Linked DNA regions of Homo sapiens: regions 2, 3 and 4 are each linked to region 1. Evidence: promoter capture Hi-C in 16 types of primary human blood cells and fetal thymus (Javierre and others, 2016). All regions are on one chromosome and are shown on one strand. Each heading gives the region's core, a stretch centred on a gene start or on the middle of the fragment in contact. The rest is flanking DNA. Distances are from core to core; before and after follow the strand shown. Region 1 holds the start of VSIG1 (V-set and immunoglobulin domain containing 1). Region 2 overlaps MORC4 (MORC family CW-type zinc finger 4). Region 3 has its middle 8.8 kb from the start of RIPPLY1. Region 4 overlaps TBC1D8B (TBC1 domain family member 8B).

The links. Contacts are between HindIII fragments. The CHiCAGO score rates a contact against its expected background, and 5 or more counts as called.
Region 2: a contact is called between a fragment that was not itself captured here and the fragment with the promoter of VSIG1 in region 1, in 1 of 17 cell types (naive CD8 T cells). The highest score is 5.7, in naive CD8 T cells.
Region 3: a contact is called between a fragment that was not itself captured here and the fragment with the promoter of VSIG1 in region 1, in 2 of 17 cell types (naive CD4 T cells and total CD4 T cells). The highest score is 6.3, in naive CD4 T cells.
Region 4: a fragment that was not itself captured here is called in contact with the fragment with the promoter of VSIG1 in region 1 in 3 of 17 cell types (naive B cells, total CD4 T cells and naive CD4 T cells); the score reaches 8.8 in naive B cells.

What each region holds. Positions count from the first base shown.
Region 1 is chrX:108,042,965-108,048,092 of GRCh38, reverse strand. It overlaps VSIG1 (V-set and immunoglobulin domain containing 1), which reads right to left and starts at 3,028. Exons shown (of 7, transcript NM_182607.5): 1 at 2,914-3,028. The coding sequence starts at 2,962. The HindIII fragment of the contact is 8,448 bases long and covers 1-5,128 here.
Region 2 is chrX:106,986,767-106,992,780 of GRCh38, reverse strand. All of the region lies in intron 3 of MORC4 (MORC family CW-type zinc finger 4), which reads left to right. Among named protein-coding and RNA genes, the nearest start is that of MORC4, 10 kb to the left of the region's middle. The HindIII fragment of the contact is 4,337 bases long and covers 202-4,538 here.
Region 3 is chrX:106,891,654-106,897,329 of GRCh38, reverse strand. No RefSeq gene overlaps it. Among named protein-coding and RNA genes, the nearest start is that of RIPPLY1, 8.8 kb to the left of the region's middle. RefSeq lists an enhancer at 2,151-2,675. The HindIII fragment of the contact is 1,211 bases long and covers 3,817-5,027 here.
Region 4 is chrX:106,871,251-106,876,721 of GRCh38, reverse strand. TBC1D8B (TBC1 domain family member 8B) reads right to left here. Exons shown (of 21, transcript NM_017752.3): 21 at 572-3,152. The coding sequence ends at 2,757. Among named protein-coding and RNA genes, the nearest start is that of RIPPLY1, 29 kb to the left of the region's middle. The HindIII fragment of the contact is 1,911 bases long and covers 1,349-3,259 here.

The sequences.
Region 1 (5,128 bases), core at 1,779-4,278:
GGCGGAAGTTGCGGTGGGCCGAGATCGTGCCATTGCACTCCAGCCTGGGCAACAAGACTTAACTTCGTCTCAAAAGAATATATATATGTGTATATATATATATATATATATATATATATATATATATATATGTGTGTGTATATATATATATATATGTGTATATATATATATGTGTATATATATATGTGTATATATATATATGTGTGTATATATATATATGTGTATATATATATGTGTATATATATATGTATATATATATGTGTATATATATGTATATATATATGTATATATATATATATATAGAGAGAGAGAGAGAGAGAGAGAGAGAATGTCTTGTATTTTGGTGGTGATTGTTCATTCATTTAATGCCTACAAGGTGGCAAACATTTTGCTTATAGAAGGATTATTATCCTCCTAATGTACCACAGCAAAATATCCCCCAAATATTCATATTTAATCTGATAGATTTGAAGTGATTTAATTTCCAGCAACTTCATATATAATAGATTCATTTTGACTTAGGAAATAATATAATCAAATGATCACTCACTTTTTTGGATTTGAGTGCAAACTCAAAGTTCAAATATATTACTCCTTTAAAATGCATAGCATATACCTCCAGAAAATGAAACCCACATTAACATATCTTTCTAAGAGGTGACTAATACATATTTCAAATACCTAAAATGATATGCATAAATTTTTTGCAGAAGTTTGATTAAAACTCGTTTTCCTGAATTAGAATTTAACCTAAGAATTCCTAAGAAGTCATTGAAAATATTTTGATTTAAGCAAAATCTGACCTGTTTAGTTATATCAAAATCAATTTTAAATATGTATGTGAAAATGATGTCTGGATGTTTGGAATTTGGGAAAGTAATTCATTCTTTCAACAAACATTTACTATGCATCCACTATGTGTTAGGCACCACGCTTAACACCAAAAAGTGACATTCTCTCCAAAACAAGTCCAGGAAGAACATCAAATTGCACATTGATGGAAACACTATCAGTTGTCCAGATCAACTGATGAACACTGCTAATGACAGGTGTAGATTACTAAAGTGATCCTTTCTCTGACTTCAATACATATGTAAGCACAGCAAACGACAATAGAGCATACCACAATTTGCTGTACTGACACTACTGCTTTGGGCCAACTAGATAATATGTGTGTAGATATATAGTGTACACTATATACCAACAAAATCAGTTATATAGTAACTTAGGAAACACACTCTGAAGTATTTATTGGTCTTGTTCTAAAAGTCACAATAAAATAAAATCCTGACATGATGCTAAACAATTTTTTTAAACAATAAAAAAGTATACAAGGAATAAACCCAATTTTTAAAATGTAATATATACACCTGCAAATAAAAGAATAATAATTCACCCAAATCTGAGTGGTAAAATTGCAGATGATTTTTATTTTATTTTAAATTTCCATATTTCCAACCTTTCTACAATGACCATGCATTACATTTATAATCAGTAAAAATTACTTGTATGTTAGGTACAGTTAAAAAAAAAAAAAACTGTTCTTAACAACCGTTCCAAACCCTGTGCCTAGTATGGGCCAGGGCAAGGCTTCACATAGGGAAACAGGTATGATCTTAGAGGGCTGATGCAGAAGGCCCAGGGGTCGACCCAACTGGCTAATGACTGGAAACCCTTTAAGAAGAGACAAAACTTCCATATCTAAAGTTACATTTAAATGAATATGCCTGGGGAGAAGGGAAAATAGGAACATGTGTTTCCAGCTCTAGGGCCTAGTTAGGTCACTGGACAAATGGAGTATTGCCTTCTGGTGATGTTTAACTCCATAAAACATCTATGCTTAAACATTTAGTAATGAACATTTAAAGAACTATTTCTAAACATGAGATCACTTTGAAAAGTAACACTTTTTTCTAATTATAAAAATAGCATAATGTTCTTCGTAGAAAACCCAGGAAGTATGAAAAGCTGGGAAATAAAATTAAAATCATCTATAATCCCATCACCCAGAGGCAACCACCATGAGCACTTCGGTATATAACCTTCTAGTAATTTATTCTAGGCATATGTGTGCATCCTGCTTTTTCACTTAATATTTTATCGTGGGTATTTTCTTATGTCATTAATACGCCTAGTAAACCTCATTCTAACCACTGCCTAATATTACTAATGGCTTGAAAATCCTGTTTTTGGATAAACAATATTATTGTATTTACTATGGACCTAACTTATAAGAACAGATGCAAAATGTATCTGATATTTGAAAACTACCCAAGGGATTTTTGGAATTAATGATCTCTCCTGGATCTAACTAACATCAGTATTTTGATTCCAAAATTGATTTTCTTCTGTTCAGATACCTAAAATCACCCATGTTGTGCACCATAAATCACTCACATATTTTGCAAAATACAGTCTTAGGATTGGAAAACCACAACTCCTTAAGAAATATTAGACAGTAAAGTACTCAGTAAATTTCTGTTCTTCCCATATGTAAGCCAGGGCAGGCCCTCCAACCCAGGCTCTGCCTGCTAGAGCAAGTCAATCACTGAGCTTAAAGGAAACACTAAAGTAAGTAAAACAGAGACAAAATTATCCCTAGCACAAAGTTTGGTTTCTGAGTAAATTCATTTTTTTCACTTTTCAAAGTAAGTAAAGTAATAAACTATATTTTTTTCTGAGAAAATTTTCATTCAGAAGCTCCATAAAACAATAATATTATGGGCTTACACCCCTAATATATCAGCATGGCATATGTTTGCTAAGCAAGAGTTCTGAAAATTAACTCATCATACTAATCACAATTCATTTGAAGTACAGGAGATGAAAATTCTATGTAAAAATGTGGAATTTTTATTTAAAAGGAAACTCTGTTTCCAATTATATTTGGTGGTTTGGAGATCCTTTCCTTACCTGCAAGGCAGCTTAGGATCAGAAAGACCTTCCAAAATGCGAACACCATTGTGTGGAGGTTAGTTGAGAGCAGCAGGTGCCAGTAGCTTGCCTGGACTAGGCTGAGTCTCAAATTGGCTTCTTCGATCACACCGAGGTTTGCCTGGCTTATCTGCTGGGCATCGCCAAGCAAACATGCCTCTTTGGGCTTACTTATTGCGTATAGACTTTTTTCAGTACAGATTTGTGTTTCTTTGAAACACTTTTCATGGGGCGTGTTTCCTTGATATATTTGCTACTGTGTTAATAATAAACCCACGCATTTAAATTATTCAAGCTCCTTGTACACAGATTCTCTAAGTCTCATTGTTTAAAATCAATCTTACTAAAACGTTGTACTTGGGCTGGGGGATATGGTTGGAAGAGAGCCTATGCAAATAAAAGCTGACAAGGCTAATTAATTTCAAATATTTCCATGAGTCTTACAGAATTGATTCACTAACCTCCTTTTACAAATTAAGTTAGTAAATTGGTACTATATCGTTTCCTGGGGAGATGGGGCTCACGGGAAGGGCACAGGGGTTATGAAGCTAAAAAGCATTCATTTCTGTGTGAACAAACTCTGGATATGTTACTCTTTTTTGAAACACTGGCAGTTGTCACTACCCTCCACCAAAACTAGCAGTAAAATGATTTACATGCTTTTGTCTGTCGGGTTAGAAACCTTATAGCACGTATTTGCTAACGTAATTTTGCAAAATCAAGTTAGTGAATACATGCTTAAAGACTTTCTTTGGAGAAGTCTGATTTTTTGGAGAATTAAGATACTCAGTAAATGCTATAGGGTTTCCTTAGAAATGGAGGTTCACCAGGAGGGCATGGGAGGCTCCACAGGTAAGGAACTTTCATGGGAACATGAACTTCTAATAGTGTTCCTATTATGCTTAAGTTACCCGGAGAAACCTAAGGACTTTCTCTGGCTCTTCCCATGTGATTTCTAAGTCCTATCATTTCCATCTCCACAGCGACTTTCAGATGTGTTCTTTCTCCAATCTGCTGCTTCCATCTTGGTCCAGGTACTCAGCTTCCCACTTTGGCCTATCATAGCAGCTTCCTAAGTGGTCTCCCTGACTTATTCCACCTTCATCCTGTGTGCCAGCCGCAGGCCAATGTTCCAGCCCTAGTGAAATATTTCCAGTAACACCATAAATGGACTCTTTCATCAAATCCAAAGTCCTTAATATGGATTCCCATTCTTCCAATATCTGATCCTCACCTCATCTGAACTTTAGCCACATTAACTCATGCCCCTGAAAAAGTATGTCAAGATTTATTGCCTCAAAGTGTTCAGTCACATGAAATGTGTACAAATTTCAAGTGATATGTTTTATGTTCCTGTCTTTAATTTACAGGAAATGTTTGACCCCATCTTACTTTAGCCATTCCAATCTCCCACTGCTTCTTAGAAAGCCATTTTGCTTCCATCATGCCTGATTCCTCCTTGCAGCCTATCCTGTCCATGCTCATGTCTGATGCCAAACGTTGGCTCCAGGTGATTTCCATCACTAGAGTTTTCTTCTTCCTCCTCTTACTAGCCAAGTATATTCTTAGCATAGATCAGTCATACTGTCCTATGTGAGAATTTCAATGAACCGACATACCACCCTAGCATAAATTTCCATTTTACTTAAAGCCAATATCCTACAGCTGACCATTGATTATTCTCCAGTAGTTTCGCATTTATTAACTGGTCTACCTTAAATCTAGTCACTGTGAATCCCTCCAGGGTAGGGACCATGTCTTATACAGGCAGTTCCCAACTTTAAAATGAGCGTGTCCCAAGATGTAATGGTAAACTCGTTGACTGCACGCAAGAACTCCTGCAGAAGCAATGTTATAATATGAGTCTCACTGTCAGGCATGTAGCACATAATCTAGCACTGGCTTGAATTCTGCGTACTGGGCCGTATAAGGCAGTGGAGGGTGAGGAGGAACAGCAGGTGACAGAGAAAGAACGTTCCTTTCATTTCCCAAGATATGACTTGTGCACAAATCAACATTTTCCCCCAAATAACTATTGCATGTCTCTGACATCCACCTTCTCTTCTGCCTCCCACCTTCACGGCCCCCTGGCTCCTGGGTCCCTAGTTTGCCCTAAGGGAGAGTCTCATTCCCCAGAATATCTCATGCTCCAAAATTACTTTTTCCTTTTCACCTCTATTCCTCCCAGAAACCC
Region 2 (6,014 bases), core at 1,121-3,620, 1.1 Mb after region 1:
CCTCCAATTTATATTAACCTAAACTCACTCTTAAATCAGAAGTATTGGAGTTGGGGTGATTTATTGATTAGAACCACGAAGGTACCTGGGTATAATCAAACCCCATGCAAGGTAAATAGAAGGCATTCAGACATATATTCTTTAAAGGTTTTGCAGTAGAATCACAAACTTAGGAAATTCTCCTTTCTAACTGTTAAAGCTTGTGCTAGATTTCTATTGCCACTGTCAGTTCATTTAATCACTTTAAAACATTTGTAGTTGAGAACGTAAATTTATACTATATCATCTCCGCATATCACTCAGTGGAATATGAGTATTCCTTCAACTCCTTCCTTCTCTCTTCCTTTTAGCAGATGAGGTTGATTACTCTCCCTGTGGCTTCCTGAACTAGAGTGTGTGAAGCACGAGTAACAATGGTGGAATGCTGTGGAGGAGGGAAAGGGCTCCAAACTATAAAAATGGAAAACAAATTCATGTGGTTGTAGTTACCCTTGTAGGTATTCTAAATCAATTACTCTGTTTGTAGGGAAATCCCTTTGATTCATCAAAGAAACAAAAATGAAATTTGGGCAAAGTAAATGGTTGCGTTTTACCACTCAGCAGTCTGTATACCTTGTGTCTCAGACCCTCCTAATTAGAAGACTATTTGAGGAAAACCTCTAAAAGTGAAACAAGAATTGTGACCAGTATGTTAGTGAAGGTAGAAAGTTGGCCCAATCCTTTAACTTATAACATCAGTTTTATATCCTGAAGTTAATATTATATATTAAGAAAAATACAATTTTAGATGGGATGGAACCAAAGCATTTATATGTTCAATTCTGTATGTACTAGTTGGTTGTTTTCCCCGTAAAATTACTTGTCTTCTTATTTTTTGAGACAGAGTCTCACTCCATCACCCAGGCTGGAGTGCAGTGGCATGATCTCAGCTCACTGCAACCTCAGCCTCCTGGTTTCAAATGATTCTCGTACCTCAGCCTCCCGAGTAGCTGGGATTATAGGGGTGTGCCACCATGCCCGGCTAATTTTTTTGTATTTTTAGTAGAGACAGGGTTTTGCCATGTTGTCCAGGCTGGTCTCGAACTCCTGACCTCAAGTGATCTGCCCACCTCAGCCTCCCAAAGTGCTGGGATCACAGGTGTGAACCACCGCACCCATCCAAAATTGCTTATCTTCTTAATGACTCCTTCCCATCATACCTTATCCCATTGACGTGGGTGTTGAGTAGTGGGCCCAGCACATCTGATCTTCCGTTTTGTCTGTGGGACTACATCTGTGAAACTTGGTTAGAGTTATAAGGTAGAAGGGAGGAGAAGAATGGTTTCAAAATAATTGCCACAATTTTTGTTCCAGATTCATTCATTTATTCATTCAACAAATTTTTATTGAGCACCTGTGTGCAAGGCACTGGAGATAAAGTGGTGAACCAGATAGACATGATTCTTGGCTGACAGCTTAATGAGAAAGAACAAAATTGACTAGTAATATAACTAAATAGGCTATTCCACCCAGTGGTAAGTGCTATGAAGGTAGAGCACAGTTTCTTTGAGAACGTATAACAGGGATCTAATCTAGTCTAGGGAATTAAAAAAGGCTCCCCTGAAGAAATGACATTCAAATTGAAATATGAAGGATGAGTATCACCCATTCAAATTTTTTATTCCCTCCCCAAGGAGCAAAATAGGTAGAAACTTTCTTAGCTATAGAATTTTCCCTATCATACCAAATATGTTTACCACTGATTTGAGCTGGGCAATTGTTCCTCCTATTTAAAAAATAATTTTAGAAAATTATTTTAATGAGTCCTTAATGTAATATATGTACTGAATTTTATTTGTGATTGTATCTTGAAACAAACTTGAATCAGCTAGAAGATACCTTTTTTTTTAATTAAAAAAAAATTTTTTTGAGATGGAGTTTCACTCTTGTCCCTCAGGCTGGAGTGCAATGGCATGATCTCAGCTCATTGCAACCTGCCCCTCCTGGGTTCACGCAACTCTCCTGCCTCAGCCTCCCAAGTAGCTGGGATTACAGGCAGGTACAATCACGCCCAGCTAATTTTTGTATTTTTAGTAGAGACGGGGTTTCACCATGTTGGCCAGGCTGGTCTTGAACTCCTGACCCGAAGTGATCAGCCCGCCTTGGCCTCCCAAAGTGCTGAGATTACAGGCATGAGCCACCGTGCCCGGTGAAGATACCATTTATTTAAAAGAGATCATTTAAGGCCAAGCATGGTGGCTCATGCCTATAATTCTAGCACTTCCAAAGGCCAAGGCAGGCAGATTGCCTGAGTCCAGGAGTTTGATGCCTGCCTGGGCAACACAGGGGGACCCCATCCTTACAAAAAAATACAAAAATTAGCTGAACATTTTGGCATGCACCTGTAGTCCCTGCTACTCGGGAGGCTGAAGTGGGAGGATTGCTTGAACCCAGGAAGCGGAGGTTGCAGTGAGCTGAGATTGTGCCATTGTAATCCAGCTTGGGCAACAGAGGGAGACCTTGTCTCAAAAATAAATAAATAAATAAATAAAAATAAAAGAGATTTTTTAGTCCAATCCTAACTTCCAGCAAAGGATTCTATTTTTTTTTTTATTAGATGGAGTTTTGCTCTGTCGCCAGGCTGGAGTGCAGTGGCGCGATCTCGGCTCACTGCAACCTCCGCCTCCTGGGTTCAAGCAATTTTCCTGCCTCAGCCTCCCGAGTAGCTGGGACTACAGGTGTGCGCCACCATACCCAGCTAATTTTTGTAGTTTTAGTAGAGACGGGGTTTTACCATGTTGGCAGCCAGGATGGTCTCCATCCCTTGACCTTGTGATTCACCTGCCTCGGGCTCCCAAAATGCTGGGATTACAGGCATGAGCCACCACGCCTGGCCCGAAGGATTCTATGTTTTCTGGGTTTTTTTTTTTTTTTTGGATGGAGTTTCACTCTTGTTGCCCAGGCTGGAGTGCAATGGTGTGATCTTGGCTCACTGCAACCTCCGCCTCCCGGATTCAAGTGATTCTCCTACCTCAGCCTCCCGAGTAGCTGGGATTACAGGCATGCGCCACCATGCCTGGCTAATTTTGTATTTTTAGTAGAGACGGGGTTTCACCATGTTGGTCAGCTGGTCTTGAACTCCCTAACTGAAGTGATCCGCCTGCCTCGGCCTCCCAAAGTGCTGGGATTACAGGCATGAGCCACCGTGCCTGGTGCTGTTTTCTACTTGAAGGCATATTACTTTTGTATTTGGAAAAAATAATAGAAGTAATTATACAAATTTATTAAGCCTACAGAAGTTCTATTTGACCTCTAACATTTGTTGTTACACTGTCCACACTTTCCAACTCTTTATGCAACTCTATTTTCAGGCTGATAAAATAGTTGTGTAACTGTAGCAACAGTTTCTTCCATAAACATAGACTTTCATGAAAATCAAATTAAAAAGGAAAAACCTATTATTAAATTCCTTTAAGGTCCACAACTAATTATCTTTAGCTTCTGGGGCTAGTGTGTGGATCAGTTAGTCTGTATATTCAGCTGCCTTTTTCAGCAAGGTGGAAAACCTCTTTCAAAGTTCAAAGACTAAAAACAGCCACAGAACCACAGAAGGTATTTGCTACCTGTGCTCAGAAGTGCACTTCCTAGCAGGTGTATTCTTCTAAAACAATAGCTGGAGAATAACAGTCTGCTTAGCACTCTTTCATTCTTTTATATTACATATTAAATCACAAGTATACCTAGGAAATAGCAGTGCCTGCCTTTGTGCACCCATGGATTTTGCCAAGGTTTGTTTCATTGGTCAGAGTCTTTACTTATTTATTATTTTTCTTAACTTTTATTTTTGGTTTGGAGGTACACGTGAAGGTTTGTTACATAGGTAAACACGTGTCATGGCAGAGTCCCAATTTAAATTTACCTCTCTGGATTCTGGATTCTTGACATTTTAAGATACTCCAGAGCAAGCTGCTGTATTTTTGGATTCCACTAAAAGTGCTGGTATCCAAGCCACCTTGATGTGTAAACAGTGTTGTCTCTCACACGAGAGGATAGAGCAGGACTGACTTAGCAAATAGAAACCACCTAAACCAAGTTATCTCTGTGGAAAATTATTACTGAGCTATAGCAAACTATCAAATTCATTATTACAATTCTATTATTATGTGTGGTGAGGGCTTTTGTGTTAGGTAGTTATTTGATTGGTACCTGACATTGATTCTGCCAGTTTGCATTTAAATAGAATGCCGAACATGAGAACTTAGGTGGAATAAAAGAGCACACGGGAAGAGTTAAGTGAAACACAGTAACAACAACAAAAATCCAGAGTTTATAGCTCCTCTCTTCTCGTTATTCTTATCCTTTTCCATTCTGGTTCTGGCCTGGCACTACTACTTATCTTCTCAACCTTGTATCATAATTTGGTCTCCTCAAATTAACACAGTGAGGGTTTATACTTTCAAAGGGGAAAAGAGGTGATAGATGGTGGAAGAGGCTAAAAAATTAAGGGAGTTGTAATCTCCCTATTTTCACCACTTTCCCTTGATCACCTAATTGAAGCTTTTGTGGTATAAGAGAAAGTTGAAGTCCGGTTAACGATACAAATTCATTTGAAGTGATGTGTAAGATTACTATTTATGAAGAGCCCTGAGCTTTAGATGTGACCTTAGGTCTGAAGTAGGAGTAGGGGATAGCACATGACAACTATCAGAATGACTTCTAGAGTTAGTTTAAAATTAATGTTTGAATACTACTTTATACTTAATGTATTTTGCATACAGTATATAATTTAATCCTCATAACAAACCCATTTTTTTTAAAAGCCAATTCTTCCACAAGAAAAATGGGAATGCCTGAATCTTACTATTATAAGTCTGTATCCTGGAATACTAAGGCCCATAGGCAACACAAACTGAAGTTCTTTTTCTTTTTTTTTTTCCCAAAGGACTGCTGCCATGGAAATTACCTTTTTCTGTCACTAGATTTATTTGTAGGATACACACAGCTCCTATAAAGTATCTACTCTAGGAGGACATATGGTATTATTGTATAATGCTTTGAAACAGAAAATTAAAAGGTGGTTCCCTTTCTTAGTGAGTAAACACAAAACCGCAATCTTCAGGAAGTAGAAATCAGATACCTCCGCTCTCCATGCTCAAAAGAGTAAAATTGTTAAAGATCAGCCTGCTCAGTCATGGTCTGACCAGAGTATCTATTTTATTGATGTTGAGAAGCACCTAATCTGTAATATATGAAGTCCTTCCTTAGACTATAAACTCTGAAGGCAAGAATCATGTCTCTTATTAAAAATGGTCTCTAGTGCTTAGCCCAATGCTTGGCACATTGTAGGTGCTTAGTTTAAATATTTATTGAATGAATGATAGTGCACAACATTGTAAAATTAGTCAATCTGGAGAGAAACAATCCTTTTTAGTATGATTTTTTCTTTTATTGATACCTAATATTTTACATATTTATGGGGTACATGTGAGTACTTTATACATGCATACAATGTGTAATGATCAAGTGAGGGTGTTTGGGGTTTCCATCACCTTGATAATTTATATGTTGGTAACATTGGAACTCCTCTTTTCTAGCTACTTTGAAATATGTGATGTATTATTGCTAATTATAGTCACCCTGGTCTGCTATGGAACATTAGAACTTTTTTCTTCTATCTAACTATAAGTTTGTACTCATTTGCCAAACTCTATTCATTTCTCCTTCTCATCCTGAGAAACAATCCTTACAATTAGTTTTATTGATGGTGAGGGAAGATATATAATCATTTTATTTTTAATTTTTAAAGTTCTGTTATTTTGGTGTGTACCTGAATGGAAAATACAAGGAAGGGAAAGGTTCTGGCTTCCAGATTAAGCTGATCAAAAGGGGCTACAGAGATTGTTGAGGCGCCTAAGTGAAAGGTCCTTAATGGAGCAAGAGAGACTTTATACTGCAACTGTTTGCTGATATTCAGAGGCAGAACTACCTATTTTTATCCTTTGGCCACATTCCAATGAACTGTCCCAGCAGATGGA
Region 3 (5,676 bases), core at 3,173-5,672, 1.2 Mb after region 1:
CAAAACTCAAGAGTCCTTCCTCCAGCTCCATTTGGCTGGCCCATCCTAGTGTCCCAGCACTTCCCCATCCTAGCACTGATTTCCTCCTGTTTCTCCCACCTTGTTGCAGCAGTGAGAGAACACATCTGTTGGGGTGAGGCTGCATTTGAGCTGGGCTTTGAAGGATGGGCATGAGTAGTAATGGAGGGAGAAAACTTTTCAGAAAGAGGCAGCACTATGAATGCCTTCATTAAACAATACTTATTGAGCACTTACTATGTGCCAGCCCTTAACGTTGTAATGATTAGGAGCATGGGCTTTGGAAGCAGATGAACATGGGTTCAAATGCCTTTTCTGCTGCATGCTGGCTCAAATCATAGGCCCACTCCCCTCAAGTGTCAAGGTCAGCTCTCTGCTCTTAACCCTTTCACTACAACCTCTATAGTTTTTTGTTTGTTTGTTTTTTGAGACAGGGTCTCACTCTGTTGCCCAGACTGGAGTGCAGTGGCACTTGGCTCACTGCAACCTCCGCCTCCCAGGCTCAAGCAATTCTCCTGCCTTAGCCTCCCGAACAGCTGGAATTACAGGTGTGCACCACGACGCCCAGTTAATTTTTGTATTTTTAGTAGAGATGGGGTTTCATTATGTTGGCCAGGCAGGTCTTGAACTCCTGACTGTAGTTCTTTATTGTGTCACACCTCTTCCCCACACAGCACATGCTCATTAAAATAGTCGCCTATTCTCCTTTGCCTCAGCACGGAAAGCCCTCTGCCTACCCAGTGGGTGTTACAAACCCTCACCTCTCACCCCCTCCTCAAAACTGTGCCTGTGTGACCCATCTAGTGGGTAGATACATTGTCTCCTTTCCTCCCCACTTCCCTTTTGCCAAATGGTGGCCAATCCCCATCCCAAATAAGGTTGTTAGCAGACCTGAATCCACTGTTTTGGCCTATCAGGAACATGGTGTTGGTTCCTGTGTTTTTGGTTTATCCCCTGGCTGGCAAGGCTCGTGACAACCTCCATGGAAACACAGAAACCCAGATACAGAAAGCCAACAAGGAATGACTGCTCTGACAGCGGGTGCCACAGCACTTGCTACTGACGTTACACCCATCATCTTGTGTGGTACTTGTAATCACAACAGTCCTAGAGATAGGTCTTATTATTATCCCCACTTATTAATGAGAAAACTAAGAGTTAGCTGGGTTTCTGTGCCTGGGTTTGTGTGCCTGCATGGAAGATGCTACAAGCCTTGTCAGCAGTGATTAAGTAAAAAATACAGGAACCAACACCAGGCCATGACAAGTAAAACAGTGAAGTCAGGTCACCAGTTTACAACAGGAGACTGGAGAAGAGAGGAGATGAACTGTCTGTCCACTAGAGAGCCATAAAGTCACAGTGCGGGGTGGCAGGGGGGCGGGGGAGTAGGAGGTGGTGACACCCACAGGTGTGGGAGTGGGGCTTTCCCTGTCCAGAGAAGACTAGACAATAGGATACCTAGGAGGATAAGAGTTAGAACAGCTGATAATTCTGGAATTCTTGTTATGAACCTTACATGGATTAACTCCTTTAATACAACAACTTTGAAGGATAGGTACAGTTGGGAAAACTGAGGCTTAGAGTGGTTTTTAAAACTTGCCCCAAATCACACAGTTGGTAAATTGTGGCACCTTCTAAGCGTCAGGCTTTTTACACATTTTACCTCATTGAATCCTTATGGCAACCCTAAAACTCAAGCACTATTATTTTCCTTGTTTTATGGATGAGGAAACTGAGGTTCAGAGAGGTTAAGGAATCTTAAGGTCACGTAATTAATAAATGACCGATCCAAGATTTGAGAGATGACAGCAATTGCTCCAGGTTACATTAATGGTAAGTGGCAGAACTAGAGTTCAGGGCTGCCTGACACCAGAGCCCTGTGCTTTCAGGAGGTGGAATCAACAGGGTTTGCTGAAGGATTAAATCTGTGGGAGGGCAAGGGAGAAAAGATTTAAGTTCTGGCTGCAGGGAAGTGAGTCAGAGGATATGAAGAACTCTGGGCCAGGGGCCAGGAAACACTGAGGGCCTCTGAAAGGTGTCACTGAGGGAGGAATGTTTGGGGACCTCCTGCCCGGCAGTGGCAGGCTCTCACAGCACCTGGGCTGTGGGCACAGGGCTACCAGGGGTGAGAGGGGGATGAGGGAATTCTGTTCCTGCCCCTCGGTGCTGTGCTGCCTCAGAGTGGAATGGGCCCTGGCTGGGCATGTCTCACTCTGGCTGAAAAGTGGGAGGAACTACCAATTGCTGAGCTCTCCCGTTCTATCCCAGGCACTGTGCTTGGCACCACACACACTTTATCCTGAACTGGGTGGTGGTGGTGGTGGGGCATCCTAATGTTTACAGATAAGAAACTGGGACTCAGAGAAGTGAAGTGACCTGTTAGTAGCACAGGCAATGAGTGGGAAGCTGGGGTAGAACAGGACAGTGCGACTACAGAGTCCTGGCTCTTAACTACTAGGCTCCTCCTTCCCTCCTCCTTATTCCCCCAGAGAAGCCCTGAAAGTCCCTTAGGGCAGGCAGCTCACCCTGGCCTCCTGCAGCCTACGGGGAAAGAAGTGTGTAAACTGTCACAAAAAGGCATTGCTATCCCCATCACTGGGGACACCTTGAGGCCTGGGACCAAGTGTGAATTAAAAGAGGTTGAGGGAGAGACCAGGAACCAGCTGGAGTCAGGCTCTGGGTTTTTCTAGAAGTCTTCCATCCAAGGGAGAGAACAGCGGCCTCCAAGTCCCTAGCGATTCAATTCGTTTTCGCTAACAGCAAGACAGGCAGCCCCCTCTAGTGGCTGAGCTCTAAACCTACAGCACAAAGCCCAGGATGAGCAGGGCTCATCCATCCAGAGGATTCTATGGCCAGCACTGTTTTGTACCTGGTGGTTATAGGGACAGACTCTGGATTTAAACCAAACCTGGGTTCAAATACTGGCTCGACTCCTTGTTAGCTAAGTGACCATGAGAAAATGTCTCTAAGCCTTAGTTTCTTCATGTATAAAATAGGAATGATAATAATACCATTTTAACAGGGTTAATGTAAGAATTAAATGAGACAGCATATGTAAGGGGCTGGCAGAGTACTTGGCACATTACAGATGTGATAGAGACATGCACATATATTTATATATACATGTACACACACTACTATACATTGTGCATAGGTGTATATATGAATGTATACACATCTAATAATTGTTCTTTTTTGACACATGCTATCATAATAGTCGTCACCACTTTGACTTCCCTTGCCTTTCCCATCTGATATGGTTTGGCTGTGTCCCCCCTGCCCCCAATCTCAAGTTGAATTGTGGTTCCCATAATCCCCACATGTCATCGGGAGGGACCTGGTGGGAGGTAACTGAATCATGGGGGCGGTTACCTCATGCTGCTGTTCTCATGATAGTGAGTTCTCAGAAGAGCTAATGGTTTTATTAGGGGCTTTTCCCCAATTTGCTTGGCAGTTATCCTTGCTGCTGCCATGTGAACAAAGACTTGTTTGCTTCTCCTTCCATCATGATCCTAAGTTTCCTGAGGCCTCCCCATCCCTGGGGAACTGTGAGTCAATTAAACCTCTTTCCTATAAATTACCCAGTCTTGGGTATGTCTCTATTAGCAGCATGAGAACAGACTAATACACTATCTATCTAGCTCTACTAAACCCTGGTGCCCCAATTACTGTCAACACACTCCCCTGAAGCTTATGGGAAAGACATGGGCTAAGATACTTGCTTTTCTCCATGCACACTTTCAAGAATCTTGGACTGCACATCTTTGTCCTTCAATATTCTGGGAATGTTAATAAGCTTGCTTTACACAGGTGCTACGCTCTTTCTGTGTTTCAAAGCAACTTTACCTCCGTGATCTCATTTGAATCTCTTAATACTCCCAGTACTCTCATTTTTTTTCATTTTGTTTTAGATACGGGGCCTCACTGTCACCCAGGCTGGAGAGTAGTGGCTCAATCATAGCTCACTGCAGCCTCAAACTCGTGGGTTCAAACAATACTTCCACCTCAGCCTCCTGAGTAACTAGGACTGCAGGCGTGTGCCATCATGCTCTGCTGTTTTTTTTTTTTTTTAAATAGAGACAGTGGTCTCATTTTGTTGTCCAAGCTGGTCTTGAACTCCTGGGCTCAAGCAATCCTTCTACTTCAGCCTTCCAAATTGGATTACAGGCATGAGCCACTGTACCCGGTAACATTTTTAAATGAGGATATTGAAGATGATGACATGGGAAATGACTTGCTCAAGGTTGCATAGCAAGTCAGTGCAGGAGTCAGAACTAACCTCCAGAATCTCGATGTTGAGTCCAGTGCTTTCTACCAACCCTTGCAATCGTCCAGGGCCTTAAGCTCTGACTAAATATGAAGCACTTGTAATCCAGGACAGAACTTACTTTTGAAGGCCACACCACTACACTTTGACACCAATCTCCTGCTTCTACTGAGGCCAAGGTTGTATCTCCAGGAAACTATCAAACTATGATTCTTTACCTATAAGAAGTGGTGCCATGTTGCCAGGACTGGTGACCCAAGACAGCTACATCTCCGAAACATGCAAAGAATACAATTAAATGTTAGATGATGGGTTTGCAGAGAGGTGAACATTATCTTTTCAGCCAAGCTGCATGCACTGCTAAAGAATTAGCTGCTGTCCTGTACTCACAGCCAGCTTGACTTAGCCACTCTTTTTGTGTTGGACATAACCATCAGTGTCTCAGAAGGGCAGCCTTGTCCCTAGTCAGCACAAAAATTGGGAGGTGTTGATGCATGTCAGCAGCATGGGTCCTGATGGCAGCATCTGTTTGTAGGCACTGAGAGAAGCAGTACGATAATAACTCAAAGCTCTCAGTGTCATTTGATATTACTTTGGGGGCAGAGGATGCAGGCTTGGCTGTCAGTAGCAGTGGCCGTGTTTTCTCATTCTAACACACTGGTGACAAAATGAGCACTGCTGAGATAACAAATCATAGAGCCCAAACACCCTCTCCCTAGCCCCCATGTGACACTGGCAAGCTTGGTTCTGCTCAGAGGGGAAGCTTGTTACTTCCTTCTGGAGTGTTGGATCTCTGGGTGGCACTGAATTTTTCTTTCTGCTATCACTTGTTTTTTACTTGCTCATCACCATGGCAACTCGAGAGCGGGAGCCAACATTGAAATCAATCTCTCCCCAATAGACATATGTGGAACAGCAAGTGTACTCCCTCTCTAATATTAGGGAAGCAAAACATTTTTAACCCTCTCTCCGTGCTTCAGCCTTGGTCCGTGGTGATAGAAAATACTTTCACCTGCAATTTCGGGCACCTTTGCTCTTCCTGCATGGGAGTTTCCAATCTCATTGGTCTGAGGCCAATCATTGGGCCACAGCTCACCAGTGACTCAGGTCATTACAGTGAAAAGAATCATACACATCTGTGACTAGATAGCCGGTTCCACTTGCTGCTGGATGATTGGGTCAGGCCAAATTTGTTCTGAAGACTTTAGCTTCTCAGATTCAGAGTGAAGGGAGTAGCTTAAGCTGCACTTTCCAATCAATTTTTTTAAACCAAAGAACCTGCAACAGAAAGAGGAGAACAAGGTTACCAAGCCTATGCTGAATTCTCAGATCAAGCGTTTATTAATAAATACTTTGCTTACTATTCTACTATTGCTCATTATACATATAAT
Region 4 (5,471 bases), core at 1,055-3,554, 1.2 Mb after region 1:
TTTTCCTGATTAAACTAACTAGAGTGAATTAGCTCTCTGCAATTGAATTCTGATACAAGAGGGAAGTCCTCAAGTGATATCTGAGTGAAGTGCAAGTAAAAATACATCATAGTTCTGTGTGAACTGAAATTTAGAAAAAGAAAAAAAAAAAGCCTGAACATGGTGACTCACACCTGTAATCCACATTTTGGGAGGCTGGGGCGGTAGGATTGCTTGAGCCTAGGAATTTGAGAACAGCCTGGGCTACATAGGGAGACCACATCTCTACCAATAAATAAATAAATGAATGAATGAATAAATAAATAAATAAATAAATAAATAAGCCAGGCATGGTGGTGTGTATCTGTGGTCTCAGCTACTTGGGAGGCTGAGACATGAGGATTGCATGAGCCTGGAAGATCAAGGCTGTACTGCACTCCAATCTGGGTGACAGAATTAGACCTGTCTGTCTGGGTGACAGATTGAGACCTGTCTCAATAAAGAAAAAAAAAAAAAAGAAAAAGAAAGAAAAGAAAAGAAAAAGGAAAAAAAGACATCATAATAAATAATACTAATCTTTTTAAGTAAACCATTTTTCATGTTTAGTAGATATATTTATTTTTATAAAGACAAGTAAAGCCACCTTATAACATATTTAATTTAATGCATAAGGTATAATGAACTGGTTCAGTTTAACACAACTACGTAAGATTTTTAATATTATGAACAACCTGTTTGGTTAACAAGATAGCAGCTATAAAACTATAATGTTTAGTTTGTTTCTCCTGCAGACTCAGAAAATAAATGTTTTCTTTTTGCTTTGCATTTATAAACTTTTTGCAACTCAAAAAATCTCTTTCAGTATTCAATTTTAATTAATCTAGCCTAAAGTATAATACTCAGCAATCTGTACTATTCTGACTTTAAAATCATATCAAATATTAATAACATATATGCTCTTAAGAAAGTACCTTTCTTTGTAAATACAACTGACAAAATATTCAGCAAAGTGTGTACAATAGTGCCTTGTATACATGTGTCTTTCTAGAGCTACTTCAGTATAATTTAACAATCATTGCACAATAGCAGATGTATAATAGTTTCCATATAAACTATTATCTAAGCTGTAAAATATGGACATAGTTCAGCAAATCATTTCTGAGAAAAGGCATAGATGTTTATTTACCAACTATCTCTTTAAGTGGTAATTTCCTTGAAAAGACAAGGTTGATTAAATAATTTAAAGACACTACTAGTAAGTGTTTAGCTAAAACCAATTTATGGGATTTTCAAAGGCTCAACTTGAAAATTCTTGAACTTCTTTGAAAATAACATATTCTATGAGCGATGAAGCCCCATGTGTTAAGCTTTGTTCACAGTGGATTCTTCCCAAAGGCTGACTGTACCAACTCCCTCCAAGAAAGGGAGACCTCTTGAGTCACTCTGAAGGAGGTCTGCCCTTTCATGGTTTCACATCTAGAAAAGTCAAAAGGCTTATAACCAAAGTCTTTTCTAAAGAAAGAAGCTCCAATGAATGATTTCTCCCCCTATTTTCTAAGTCAATTGATTAATAAATTGTCCTTGGTAGGAATAGCACAGGACAGTGGACAAGTATGGTTTGCTTTTTTTTTTTTTGAAAGTGCTAACAAAGCCCATTATCTCTAAATGGACTTGGTGTAATGACTGAAATATAAACAGCATAAAGTATATAGAAATTACACATCTAAATTGGATAGTCAAAACTTTTTAGACAGATGTCAGCAATTCTGTTACCTTGGCAATCATTACATACAAGTATACTTTATATGCTTGCCAGACTAATAAGATAATTCAGTCTTAGTGTAGCCATTCTTTACTATCTAATGTAAATTAACACATGACTGGTGAAAATCCAAAATCTAAAGCTAGAACCAAAACAGTCATAAGCTACTCTGAGACAAATACCACAAACAGCAGTGCCCAGAATTTCTAGTGATGTCTCGGTCTAATGAAAGACCTATACAGTTAATTGAACTGTTTCTTAGCCCTTCTCAGAAGGCTGATTTTACCCAGATTAAATCCAAATCCAATATTGTTTTTTTCTTTATATCAGCCCAGAATTTAGAGTTATTGATTTGCTTTTGTCAGTAACAGAGTTAGCAGTGTGAGTCAGCAGCCTCTGAACCCCTCAGGTAGGAAGACTGTAGAAGGTACTTAAAAAAGCATTTATTACTAGAAGACTGAATGAGATTAACTTAAAAAAATTAATAATATTTCAGTTAGATAACTTGAAAACAAGGGCCCCAAATGGTAATCTTTTAGATAATTTGGAAAGTAGGGTTTATCGATTGACATGACATATCAGCCTCACTAACACCCAAGCATAACACCGTCTTTTCAAAATAATCAGTAATTCATATGTAAATAGCAACACAAGCTAGTAATTTCCTTACTAAAAGTGATATGCTTGTGCCCTCTGGTGGTAACATTTAGCATATTCCCCTGATATTGCATATATTGTGAAATATAAAAAAGTATATTTGTATTTGAGAATATCATCAAAATTTGAGATAACAAATGTGGTTTGCTTTTTTGTTTTGTTTGTTTGTTTGTTTTAAAAAGTGCTAACAAAGCCCATTATCAACAACAAAGGAATGATGCATTGTGCTTCTGGATATATATTTTGGCCTTCAGACACATTGGTAACAAGATAAATCCCTGAGCCCTACTCACAGGAATCAAACTGACAGCTACAGGAATGTTAGTAAACTTGTCTATGATAGGCAATTCCTAGGGATTTACATCTTGGTTCTAGACCTTAACTGAGAAATTCTTGCATTTTCCAGCTTGGCTTTTACATCTATGGGTTTCTCAAAAAACCTCACCAATGCTGGTTCATTCAACAGCGATGCAAGAATCTGTTCAAATGCAAATGACCACTGAGGTTCCTCCCTAAAGGAACAAGGATCTTTCTCCAAGTGGCTCCCTGTTTTTTCCTCACTGGGTCCTCCAGAACCACAGACAGTACCAGAGAATCCTTTGGCTGATGATGTAGGGCTATGTAGTTTCCTTCCAACTTCTTCCATCCTGAGTAAAAGGCTGGTTACAACAGCAATGGCTTGATATAATGATTCTTCTTCAGGGTCCTCATGAAATAAGTTATAGAGGGTCTTTGAAAACTGAATAAACTGAGACTAGAAGACACAAGTTGAAAATATCACGTTTGAATATTAGACTTAGCAAATATAAAGAGAACTTAGAAGTGAATAGTCTCCTATATAGGATTTGTACCATAGAAGCTTCACCCTAGAAGTTATAAGAACTGGTGATTAACCCCAAAATACATATTGGTTCTAGAAAGGTGAGTATGGGCCAGGCGCGGTGGCACATGCCTGTAATCCCAGCACTTTGGGAGGCCGAGGCGGGTGGATCATCTGGGGTCAGGAGTTCGAGACCAGCCTGGCCAACGTGGTGAAACCTCTACTAAAAATACAAAAAATTAGCTGGGCGTGGTGGCAGGCACCTGTAATCCCAGCTACTTGGGAGGCTGAGGCAGGAGAATCGCCTGAACCATGGAGGCAGAGGTTGCAGTGAGCCGAGATCGTGCCATTGCACTCCAGCCTGGGCAACAAGAGAGAAACTCCATCTTAAAAAAAAAGATGAGTATGAACCATGGAAGAAAATTTCATTTAAGTGCTCTCACTTATTGCCTAATAGTACATTTTATCCAGACTAATTCCTGGACTGTTTGCCTGCCAGCATTACTTAAATGTTAGGTGCTATTTTTTTTTCCTTAGACAAGGCCTTGCTGTGTTGTCCAGGCTTGAGTACCATGGTGCAATCATAGCTCACTGCAGCTTCCAACTGCTGGGCTCAAGTGATCCTCACACCTCAGCTTCCCAAGTAGCTAGGACTATAGGCACATGCCACCATGCCTGGCTAATTTTCACATTTTTTGTAGAGACAGGATCTTACTATGTTGCCTGGGCTGATCTCAAACTCCTAGCCTCAAGTGCTCCTCTCCTACTTTGGCCTCCCAAAGCACTCAGATTACAGGCATGAGCCACTGCGCCTGGCCAGGTGGTACTTCTAATTAGGCAAAGTCCCTTTGAAGCTGTCCTCAGAGGGTGAACAAGAATTCTGGACAGAAATATAGTTAAAATTATGCATAAATTAGGCTGCACTTTGACCTGCTTCCATGGAATGAAAAGTCACTGACATTAGAATCATAGGCTTTTGTTTAAGAATTGTTTAAGATGTTTAATCCTGAATTCCATATATATATATATATATATATATATATATATAAATATTTTTCTGGGTTCCTAGTTCACAACTCCCATAGTCCTTTGTTACAGTCTTTTCTTCCCTTCCCTTCTCTCCCCTTTCCCTCCCCTTCCCCTTCCTTCCCCCTCCCCCTCCCCTCCCCTTCCTTCTTTCTTTTTGACAGAGTTTCGCTCTTGTCACCCAGGCTTGAGTGCAGTGGTGAAATCTCAGCTCACCCAGGTTGGAGTGCAATGGTTAAATCTCAGCTCGCCCAGGCTGGAGTGCAATGGTGCAGTCTCGGCTCACTGCAACCACCACCTCCCAGGTTCAAGTGATTCTCCTGCCTCATCCTCCAGAGTAGCTTTCTGATAGTCGGTCTTAAAACCCTCCCTAGAAAGGGTCTTACCTCATACCCTTAGGGGAAGGAATGCTGACATCATGAAGCTTCCATAAAAACCCAAGATAACTGGGTTCAGGGAGCTTCTGATAGCTGAATGCATGGAGGCTGACAGGAGGAAGGTAAAGAAGAACTCATCCTCATGCCGGGAGGGTGGTGCACCCCAACTCCACGTGGAGAGAAGCTCCTGCGCTTGGGACCCTTCCAGACCTCGCCCTGTGTATCTCTTCTTCTGGCTGTTTATTTGTATTCTTTAAAATATCCTTCTTAGTAAACCAGTAAATATAACTATTTCTCTGAGTTCTGTAAGTCTCTCTGTAGCAAATTAATCGAACTCAAAGAAGGGATAGTGGGAACCCCAACTTGAAGTTGGTCAGCCAGAAGTTCAGGAGGCTCAGACTTGTTACTGGGGGAAAGGAGGGAGCAGTCTTGGGGACTGAACACTCAACCTGTGGGATCTCATACTATTTCTAGGTAGATAGTGTTGGAATTTAATTGGAGGACACTCAGCTGGTATCTGCTGCTTGGTTGGGGGGAAAACCCCCACACATTTGGCCACAGACATTTTCTTCTATGTTGATGATTGTTATTGTCATGGTGTGAGAGTAGAGGAAAAAAGGCAGTTTGAGAGAATTTTTCCCTAAACAATAGTACTGTTCATTTATAGTAATTCTAGAATAAATATGTCATACTGACTCATTTTAGAAAGTACTTATTCAATTGTCAAATGATATAGTCCACTGAGAAATATGAAGTTATTTGATAGTTTTCATTTTGGTAAAGTTCTCGGGATCCTCAGTATCTGTACTAACCAGATTTTAATTACAAAAAGAAGAACATATTTTGATTA